3 separate regions of the Homo sapiens genome follow, and regions 2 and 3 are each linked to region 1. The links are contacts of gene promoters, found by promoter capture Hi-C in blood cells and fetal thymus (Javierre and others, 2016). All regions are on one chromosome and are shown on one strand. Each heading gives the region's core, a stretch centred on a gene start or on the middle of the fragment in contact. The rest is flanking DNA. Distances are from core to core; before and after follow the strand shown.

The links. The method cuts DNA at HindIII sites, captures the fragments that hold promoters and counts their contacts. A CHiCAGO score of 5 or more calls a contact.
Region 2: a contact is called between a fragment that was not itself captured here and the fragment with the promoter of GAL3ST4 in region 1, in 3 of 17 cell types (activated CD4 T cells, total CD4 T cells and naive CD8 T cells). The highest score is 7.4, in activated CD4 T cells.
Region 3: a contact is called between a fragment that was not itself captured here and the fragment with the promoter of GAL3ST4 in region 1, in 11 of 17 cell types (activated CD4 T cells, total B cells, naive B cells and 8 more). The highest score is 9.2, in activated CD4 T cells.

Annotation. Positions count from the first base shown.
Region 1 is chr7:100,166,808-100,170,163 of GRCh38, forward strand. GAL3ST4 (galactose-3-O-sulfotransferase 4) reads right to left here and starts at 1,810. Exons shown (of 4, transcript NM_024637.5): 1 at 1,739-1,810; 2 at 164-476. The coding sequence starts at 288. GPC2 (glypican 2) reads right to left here. Exons shown (of 10, transcript NM_152742.3): 10 at 2,799-3,356. The HindIII fragment of the contact is 24,826 bases long and covers 1-3,356 here.
Region 2 is chr7:100,542,187-100,545,542 of GRCh38, forward strand. All of the region lies in intron 1 of AGFG2 (ArfGAP with FG repeats 2), which reads left to right. It overlaps LOC124901708 (a long non-coding RNA gene), which reads right to left. Exons shown (of 2, transcript XR_007060453.1): 2 at 1,281-1,446. Among named protein-coding and RNA genes, the nearest start is that of AGFG2, 4.7 kb to the left of the region's middle. RefSeq lists a silencer at 1-21. The HindIII fragment of the contact is 5,846 bases long and covers 1-3,356 here.
Region 3 is chr7:100,439,457-100,442,812 of GRCh38, forward strand. PPP1R35-AS1 (PPP1R35 antisense RNA 1) reads left to right here. Exons shown (of 3, transcript NR_187540.1): 3 at 278-421. Among named protein-coding and RNA genes, the nearest start is that of PPP1R35-AS1, 4.5 kb to the left of the region's middle. The HindIII fragment of the contact is 6,057 bases long and covers 1-3,356 here.

The sequences.
Region 1 (3,356 bases), core at 560-3,059:
GGGAAGAGATGGAGGGGGAGTGTCCTGTTCCTCAGCAGCAAATGGGTAGAAGGGACAGAGGGCATGGAGGCTTCTGAGTCCTCAGGAGTCACCAGCCCCAGGTGGGATGGGGAAGAGCAAGTACGGGGCGTCTAGAAGGAGTTGGGGCAAAGTGGGAACTCACCTCCTCTGGAAGGGCCCTCCCAAGAGCTGGAGTGCAAAGCCAATGGTCATGAAGACTCCCAGAGCCACCCCCAGGCTCCGAGGTCCCCAGAGCCGCAGCGTCCTGGCAGGAGAGAGAGGGCCCATGTGGCACAGGGAAGGGTGAGGTGACAGAGAGATGGAGCCAGGGCCAGGAAGAGGGGCAGAGACAGCTGGAGACAGCCGTGCAGCTGCGGAAGGCACTGGTTGGAGATCGGGGGGTCATTCCCCAGGCCTGCTCACAGTCTTGGTTGAGTCTGCCCCCTGAGTTAGCAGATTTTTGCCTCTGTCAGCGTCTAGAAGGGAAATGAGGGGGGAAGAAGGGAAGTCTAAGGAGAGAGGCAGAGGCAGCCTTCTCTCCTGCTGCAGCTGAGACCTCCTTCAGGGAAGGGGAGTGGCTGGGGATGTTGTCTATACCCAGACTCTCCTAGGTGGCCCCACAACTACTGTCTCTGCTCTATCACTTTCTTATCTCCAGTTCCTCCCGCTCCCCACCTACAGTTGTCCCTGAGCCTTGGGGATTTATAAGGGAAGGAGAGAAAAAGCCCCAGCTCGTGAATGAAACAGCCAGCAAGAGAGAGAGAGATCAGATCAATCAGCTCATTAACACAGTCAGGTCAGACCATGGTCGGGAACCTGGTTTCCTCCAGAGCCCCTCTGGCTGTCACAGATGGGGATAAAGAGCCCTATCCCAGGACCAGGAAGGGAAGCCATACAGTGGGAATGAGGATCAGACAGGACACAGGTGTATGAACCCAGGCAGGAGGAAGGGAGGTTGGACTTCCAGGAGTGGCATTGCAATGGGTAAGAGCCATTGGGTTATAAATTCCCGCGCCTCTTTTTTCTCTGTCTCAGCACGGGGCAGACCCCCATGTATGACAGGGGCTGGGGGAGACGTGTGGCTACTTATAAAGCCCAGATCCCTGGACTTACCCACCATTCCACTTTCCAACCTTATCAGTGCACCCGGAGGAGACTGAAAGGGTGGGGCTGGAGAGGGAGACAGAAAGAGAGAGAGACACACACACACACACACACACACACAGAGAAACAGAGAGAGAGAGACAGAGGGACAGAGAGACTATGACACAAAGATAAGGAGAAAGGCGCAAACACTAACTGCAGAGTTCCTTCTGAAGCCCGAGCTTCCTAATCAACCGGGAGTCCAGCCCCGCCCCTTCAGATTACAACTCGCGATCAGGGACCACGGCCCCTCCAACAAGCCCCGACAGCTCCCTGCTCCGATGAGCCAGGGGTAACCCCAAGCAGAGAGAAGCCACACTTTTACTCCCGGAGACCTGCCCTCTCTGGCATCACTCCCCAATTCCCTCCCTGATCACAGCCCCTGGGGTCTAGCCGCGTCTCCCCTATCCAGAGTTCTTCATTTCCTTCCATCCATCTCTCCCTTCCCATGATTGGAGATCCCAGCCCTCTGTCCCCTCCAGCTTTGGTGACTGCCCAGTTGCCCCCGCTGGGGTTCCATGAACCCCTCATGTCTCCTCCCATAAATTAGAGGGTCCCTCCACTGGTCCTATCCTTGGTTTCACTTCCCACTCACCAGGCCACAAGGGGAGCAGCAAGGGAAATCGGGCCGGGCCCTCCCGCCCATCCCAGCCACCGCCCGACTCTTGGCTCAGCTCAACTTTCCCCAAGAACTTTCTCAGCGCCCAGGCTCCTCCCTCCTCCCTTTGTGCCGCCAGCCCCAGCAGCTGCTGCAGCTTTGATCGCGGTTCTAGGTCTCTCCCTCGCTGCATCTTCCCCTCTTCGGCAGGGCACCCAGACTCCTCTTGGAAGACACCACTTCCGCCCCCGCTTTCACACTTGGGAATCAATCCTACCATTTTCTCTTGGCTTGCCGCAGAACAAAAGATTCATTCAGGCGGTGGAAAGAAAGAAGGAAGGAAGGAGAAAGTGATATTTGAAAGCAGACATTGTCAAGGACGTGGCAAGGTAGCCAGAGACTGACACTCAGAGAACAAGGCCTCCCATCCTGAAGGCAGGGGGCAGTGGTGTGGTCACCTTAATAATGCTTCGTGGCCGGGTGCGGTGGCTCACGCCTGTAATCCCAGCACTTTGGGAGGCTAAGGCTGGTGGATCGCTTGAGGTCAGGAGTTTGCGATCAGCCTGGCCAACATGGTGAAACCCCGTCTCTACTAAAAATACAAAAATTAGCTGACTGTGGTGGCAGGCGCCTGTAATCCCAGCTACTCAGGAGGCTGAGGCAGGAGAATCATTTGAACTGGGGAGGCGGAGGTTGCAGTGAACTGAGATCGCGCCATTGCACTCCAGCCTCGCGACAACAGCGAGACTCTATCTCAAAAAAAAAAAAAAAAAAGCCTCATGTTCAAAGAGCATTTTGCAGGTGACAAGGTGCTTTTTCACACAGATTCTATTTGGTCCCCACAATTCTCCCTGTTGTACAAACGAAGATGCTCAGAGGCCCAGAGGGTGGGCAATTTGGAGATCAGAGGTTATTGTCTAGGCCCGCCTCCTGGGGGACAGGTGCCAAGGGAAGTGAAAAGCCGGCAGAAAATGAGCCAGTCACAGAGGCTCTGAGACCTCTGCTAGGAGCCAGGGCTCAGGCACTGATGGTGACAGCACAGAAGCCACACATGGGGTCCAATACATTACCATTTATTTGCAGAATAAACATGGACTCAAACACTGAAACATGGAGTTTGTGAAGGATGTGGGTGGCAGAGGTCACGAGATGAGCACCCCCCCACCTTGTTTTTTTTAAAATTTGGTTTAAGAAATTGATACTGAAAAAACTCAACAGAACCCAGGCCCATGAAGTCTCACATCCTACTCAAGCACCCTCAGTCCCCTGCCCTGCATCCAGCTGGTCCATTTCTGAGACCAGATGCCCCCACCCCTCCCCACTTCCAACTTCCTTCAAACCCCTTCCCCAGCTGCAACTCTAAACTCCTCATTTTCTCTGTTGGGGCTGATCACCAGCCCCAGCCTTAGAGGGCTAGAGACTATACCTTCTAAGGAAACCACACTCCCTCCTAAATAAATACCCCCAGGCCCCCCTCCCATTACCAAATGAAAAAATAAATATTGTGAACACCCACCCACCTCTGATGAAAATCTCCTGGATTTGGGGCCCCAGCCATTCACCTGCAAAGTCCCTTCTCTACCCTCTCTGCAGCCCCCTTCGACTCCTCCCCAGG
Region 2 (3,356 bases), core at 519-3,018, 380 kb after region 1:
TGTATTTTTAGTAGAGACGGGGTTTTGCCATGTTGGTCAGGCTGGTCTCGAACTCCTGATCTCAAGTGATCCGCCCGCCTCGCCTCCCAAAGTGCTGGGATTACAGGCGTGAGCCACGGCACCCAGCCTGCTTAGCTTTTTGGTAAAGCATTATGAGACTAAACCAGGGAGTGATTCTCACAGAGGAGGATTTAGAGAGCATATTTTGGTGTTTGGGAAATGAGAAGCTAGACCAACCCTTTGTTAGTAGGAAATGAGAGTGAAATGAAAGATCAAGAGGTTAGGCCAGTAAATGAAGCTGAATTGAAGGTATGTTGAGAGTGAGAAATTTCAGGAGAAACTCTGCAAGAAAGCTGGAGTTTCCCTATAATTAGCATGACAAGGGCAAGGCATATAATCCTTGTAAAGGGGTCTTAACACAGTATTACCTGTGTCCCTTTGATATGCTGTGGGAAGGAGTGGGAGCTGGCAGGTGGGCTGTAAGGCAGAATGTGAGGCAGGGGATGCTTATTTCTGGAGGCATGGCTCCATGGTGGCACGGAGACCAATTAGCATCTTAAATCCCCATGATTGATTACCTGTAGATTAGGGTTTGGTGTTGGTGGGAAGTGAAAATTGTGGTCGGCTGACAGCCTGCATGTTTATTCATTCGGTCAGTCAACACGAACTTATTCAGTGCCTATCAAGCGCCAGACACTGTTTTAGGTACTGGAGATACAGTAGTGATAAGTTCCCATTTTCACGGAGCTGACATCCTAGTGGAAGCCATGGACTATAAAGAAATCGTTCTGTATTGCTAAAAGCTATGAAGTAAAATGAAGCTCTGTGGGTTAGAGTGATACCAAACTGAGGTATGATGCAAAGAGAAGAAATATTATTATTAATTTTTTTTTTTGAGATGGAGTCTCGCTCTGTCGCCCAGGCTGGAGTGCAGTGGTCCGATCTTGGCTCACTGCAACCTCCACCTCCTGGTTTCAAGCGATTCTCCTGCCTCAGCCTCCCCAGGTAGCTGGGATTACATGTGCACACCACCACGCCCAGCTAATTTTTGTATTTTTAGTAGAGACGGGGTTTCACCATGTTGGCCAGGCTGGTCTCAAACTCCTGACCTCAGGTGATCCACCTGCCTTGGCCTCCCAAAGTGCTGGGATTACAGGCGTGAGCCACTGTGCCTGGCCTCGAGAAGAAATATTCTTTGTTAAAATGAAGAGGATATTGAGGGAAGAAATTGAAATACCACATTAGCACCGTAGCCACAGAAAGGAGACAGCAGGATGACATTATTTTAAAGGCCAGTTTTCTGTTCAGTGGGTTACAAATATGTCTCCTTCATAAGGGGATAGAGTCGTCTGGGGGCAGTGAGCAAAATTACTAGAATTCCCAGCTGGTTGGATTGGCCGATGTAGCAAAGTTGATGGTTCCAGCCAAAGTTGAATTTCCTAAGATCTGAAGAAAAACACACATTTTAATATTGGTGGGTGGGTATGACTCTGCCTGCATCCCTGCATGTATGAACTCATTCTTGTTCTCTCTTTTTTAATGAGAAATATTTTCTCAGCTGTAGCAAAAACCTACAGCGTTGGTGTGAGGGGTTGAGAGAAAGGCTGCTAGTTTCTGCTGTTCCTAAATTTACATACATACTGCCACAATTGTAGGTCCCACACCTGACCTAGTTTTATTCATTTGGTTTTCTTCCAGTACCTAATTTCCTTAACCTAGATGTGGATCTGTTTAATTTCCCCAACATACACATATGCTTGTTTGTTTAGTTACATTTCTAATTCTTGGAGGATGAATCTGTCATTTGAATCTTAAGACGTGGTAAAAATTGCTGCTAAAAAGCATCTATTTGCAAAGCAGTGCTTTAAATGTTCTTTCTTGTTCTGGTTTGCCTGAATGCGTCTGTGAATGAACCACTGTTCCTCAGAAAGAAAATGGATGTTGAGGCCTGAGATCTCATTGACACAAGGATGGACGCTAACTTTGACACCCAGTTTTTTCAGCAAAGTATGACATATTTCCTTGATGTGGCTGTTTGGGTCCATCTTCAATCCATCGTTCTTCAGGTGTTTGTAATAGACACTTATCTCTTCTATTTCTGCCCAACTTTACTGTGATCACAGGAGTCAGAATTAAGGTGGGCAGAGCTCTGGGCTGGGTGTCAAGAATGCACTTGACAGCTCTTTATTTGTGACAAGTTCCTGCCCTCCTTGTGCCTTACTTTCCCTGTCGGGCTTGCTGGTGGTTCTTAGTTGAAGCATTTTAATCTCCATGGGAGGAAAGGTACAGTATGTTCTTCAATAATTCAGTACTTTTCCATCTGTCTGGGTTGGAGAGGTACACATGTACCTTGCCCCTGTTTTAGTCCCATCCCTCCATCCCCTCCTCTGTCACCTTTCATGTTGACCTCTGCTGGGCAGAGGTGGACAGAGTCTCTCACTAAATTACAGATGTAGGTGCTGTTTCATAAGGGGTGCATGAACCACTTGAAAAGCCCCGAAGGAAGTGATAAATTACTAAAGGGATGAGAAAAAGCTCGACGTGGGGTGGTGGGCGGGGGGGTGGGGATGAGAGAGGTGAGGGCAGAGGGAGACATGTAAAAAAGATTGAGGTTGAGCCTAAAGGGAAGGGCGGCTGGATGCTATCAGGAGTCTACCTGGCTCTAATCAACAGGACAGCTGTTTATCATTGCTGCTGAGGAGGAACAAAGGAAATGGGTTGAAGCAGAATTTAGATCAGGAAGAGGGTTCCTAAAATTAGTGAAATTGACCCTGGAGCAGGGTAATAGGAGAGCCTTCCTCTTAGGGACTATTAAAAGTTCCTAACAGGGACTCTTCATGGTGATGTTTGCATCCAAGATAAGAGCTAAACTGGTTTAGTTGTATCCTGTTCAGAAGCAGAGGAGTGAAATCCCAGAGCAAAGAAACACGATCTGGGGTGTATGAATCTGAACACAATTGTTCAAAGGCAAGGATTTCCCAAGTCCAAATTTGGCACAAATGAAAAAGAACTTGGGTGCTGGGTGGAACTGGTTTTTTTCCATTGTTGACCTGGCAGAACTTTCTTATCTGAGCAGCTGAGCAGGTTTGATGCTTTTATGAAGCAAGATAGAAGCAAAAATATGGGCCAGCATGAGGGTGATGATCACAGAAAAACAAAAGGTGTGGTATTTGTGGAAATAGTACTATGCCTAATGGAATCAGAGAGGAGACGGGAGGGAGGGAAAGAGAGAGGACTGGGCAGTTGTTAGCAGCTACACATACAAGTGGCTTCAGCTGCCAAATAATTCAGAATACTTCATATGCCCTTTAGGTGCCCTGTGAAAAAGAAACTGAAGTGGATAAAGACAACCTGAC
Region 3 (3,356 bases), core at 609-3,108, 270 kb after region 1:
AGGAGGCTGAGGCATGAGAATCACTTGAACCCAGGAGGCGGCGGTTGCAGTGAGCCAGGATCTCGCCACTGCACTCCAGCCTGGATGACAGAGTGAGACCCTGTCACAAGAAAAAAAAAAGTTGGGGTTCGGAACAGTATTTGAGGGTACATGGATAAAACAAGATTAGCCAAATGTTGATGACTGCTGAAGCAGGATTTTATTACTATATTTTCTCTACTTTTGCATATTCTTGAACATTTCTGTGACTAAACGTTTTTTGTTTATTTAAAAAAAGAGGCTGACGCAGTTTTGGCATGCAGGAAGTGTTGGAGCTGAGACTCGAAACTGTCCCCCAGGCCTTGGCCATGCTGATAAATATCTAGGCCCTACAGGAGTTCGTGTCCATGAACCCAGTAAACGCAATTCCTCAGCCTTAAAATCTAGTCACTGACTCATTTCAGGCCCCAGCACAGACGAAAACAAGCCATTCTGTTTGCCCAGTTTACATTGCGGGTCTCCAAGAAGTGGAATGTTCACCAATGATTTTAAGAAAACAGGGCCTGGCGCGGTGGCTCACGCCTGTAATCCCAGCACTTTGGGAGGCCGAGGCAGGCAGATCACCTGAGGTTGGGAGTTTGAGATCAGCCTGACCAACATGGAGAAACCCCATTTCTACTAAAAATACAAAATTAGCCGGGTGTGGTGGTGCATGCTTGTAATCCCAGCTACTCAGGAGGCTGAGGCAGAATTGCCTGAAGCTGGGAGGCGGAGGTTGCAGTGAGCCAGAGATCGTGCCATTACATTCCAGCCTGGGCAACAAGAGCAAAACTCTGTCTCAAAATAATAATAATAATAATAATAATTAAAAAAAAAAAAACAGTACGAGTGTGAAGATCGGAAGGTGGAGGTGAGGGAGGTGAGAGGTCTTGGGCCTGCCCACATTCTTCCTAAGCTATTTTGGCTGGCCCAGGCTGGGAGGCCAGGAATTGCTTTTCCTCTTCAAAAGAAAAGGGGACAAAAAATTAGCTGGGCGTGGTAGCACTCATCTGTAGTCCCAGCTACTCAGGAGGCTGAGGCAGAAGAATTGCTTGAACCGGGGAGGCAGAGGTTGCAGTAAGCTGAGATTGTGCTGCTGCCCTCCAGCCTGGGTGACAGAGCGAGACTCGGTCTCAAAAAAAAAAAAAAAAAAAATGGGGAGGAGGACAGGGCATGGTGGTTCATGCCTATAATTCCAGCATTTTGGGAGGCCAAGGCAGGCAGATCACTTGAGGCCAGGAGTTCGAGACCAACCTGGGCAACACAGTGAAACCCTTTCTCTACTAAAACTACAAAAAATTACCTGGGCATGGCAGCACATGCCTGTAATTTCAGCTACTCGGGAGGCTGAGGCATGAGAATCACTTGAACCTGAGAGGGGGAGGTTGCAGTGAGCCAAGATGGCACCACTGCACTCCAGCCTGGGCAACAGCGTGAGACTCTGTCTCAAAAAAAAAAAAAAAAAAAAAAAATGGCTGGGACACCGTGACTCATGCCTGTAATTCCAGCACTTTGGGAGGCAGAGGCAGGAGGATCCCTGTGAGGCCAGGAGTTCAAGACCAGCCTGGGCAACATAGTGAGACCCAGTCTCTATAAAAAAATTAAAAATTAGCCAGGCGTGGTGGTGTATTCCTGTAGTCCCAGGTACCGGGGAGGTTGAGGTGGGAGGATCCCTTGAGCCCAGGACTTCGAGGCTGCAGTGAGCTATGATCACGCCACTGCACTCCAGCCTTGGCGACAGAGCAACACCCATCTCTTAAATATTATTTATTATAAGGCTTTTGGGCTGGGTGCTGTGGCTCACGCCTGTAATCCCAGCACTTTGGGAGGCCGAGGCGGGCGGATCACGAGGTCAGGAGATTAACACCATCCTGGCTAACACGGTGAAACCCTGTCTCTACTAAAAATACAAAAAATTAGCCGGGTGTGGTGGCATGCGCCTCTAGTCCCAGCTACTCAGTAGGCTGAGGCAGGAGTATGGCGTGAACCTGGGAGTCGGAGCTTGCAGTGAGCCGAGATCGCACCACTGCACTCCAGCCTGGGCAACAGAGCGAGACTCCGTCTCAAAAAAAAAAAAAAAAAGACTTTTGATTGGGTTAGACCTCACCAGTTAGAGATGCTCCTTTAGTTATCTGAGGCTGCTGAGTGGGGTAATCCTAGACCTGGATGCTAGTTTGAAGAAAGCAAGTCTCAGTGCTGGAAGGGGTCATTCAAGGTCATCCATGAGCTTCTGCTGAGCCAGGTGCTATAGGTGGGCTAGGTGGGACAGGAGACAGGTCAGCATCCAGGGTCCTTGAAGGGACCATGTCCTTAAGAAGAGGTAGGATGCCTCCAATGCAGTGGTCCACTGCACGGTGTGGCTGAGACTGCTACAGAGGACACATGGGAAGACCTGCCAGGGTTGGGGGTGGGGGAGGAGCAAGGGCGTCATCCTGGAAGTCACCCCCAAATAGGGCCAAGAAAGATCAGAGAGACAGCAAAGCTCTAATACCACCCTCTGCAAACCCCACCTATGGCGACCTCTCACCTCCTGTCTCCTATTCTCAAACTGGCCTATGCCTAAGGGCCAACCCAGAGACACTTCCACACTGGTCCCTGTCACACGAGACACGCTGGAAGATGGGAATGGCCAACCTCCAGACACACACACATCCAGGCTCCTATCCCCAGAGTGCGTGTTCTCATCCTACTGCATCTCGGAGGCTGGCAGGGTGAATCCCCCAGCAGGTCAGGTAGGTCTGAGGTGTCTCAGCCTGAACTCATGACTCCAAACCACCTTCACGCCTTCGTCCCAACCCAGAAGGAAGAGATCCAGGGAGGAGGGCACACATCGGGCTGCAGGCCAACACACTGACCCTGAGCCTGGCCTCCCCAGCATCAGGCTGAGGAACAGGAGGGTTGAGATGAGCCCCATTAGGTATGTGTGAAGTCTCTGGGACATGGGATGATGCCAGCTGCTGGGATGCAGAAAAGTTGGAGGCAGGGGACAGAGTCTCATTCAAAAGAATTTGTCCATAATCCAAGCTGGGTGTTGTGGCTCACGCCTATAATCCCAGCACTTTGGGAGGCCCAAGCAGATGGATCACTTGAGGTCAGGAGTTCAAGACCAGCCTGGCCAACATGCTGAAACCCCGTCTCTACTAAAAATATAAAAATTACCCGTATGTGGTAGCCCAGGCCTGTAATCCCAGTTACTTGGGAGGCTGAGGTGGGAGGATTGCTTGAACCCAGGAGGTGGAGGTTGCAGTGAGCCCAGATCATGCCACTGCACACCAGCCTGGGCAACAAAGCGAGCAAAGCGAGACTCCATTTCAAAAAAAAAAAAAAAAAATTTTAGC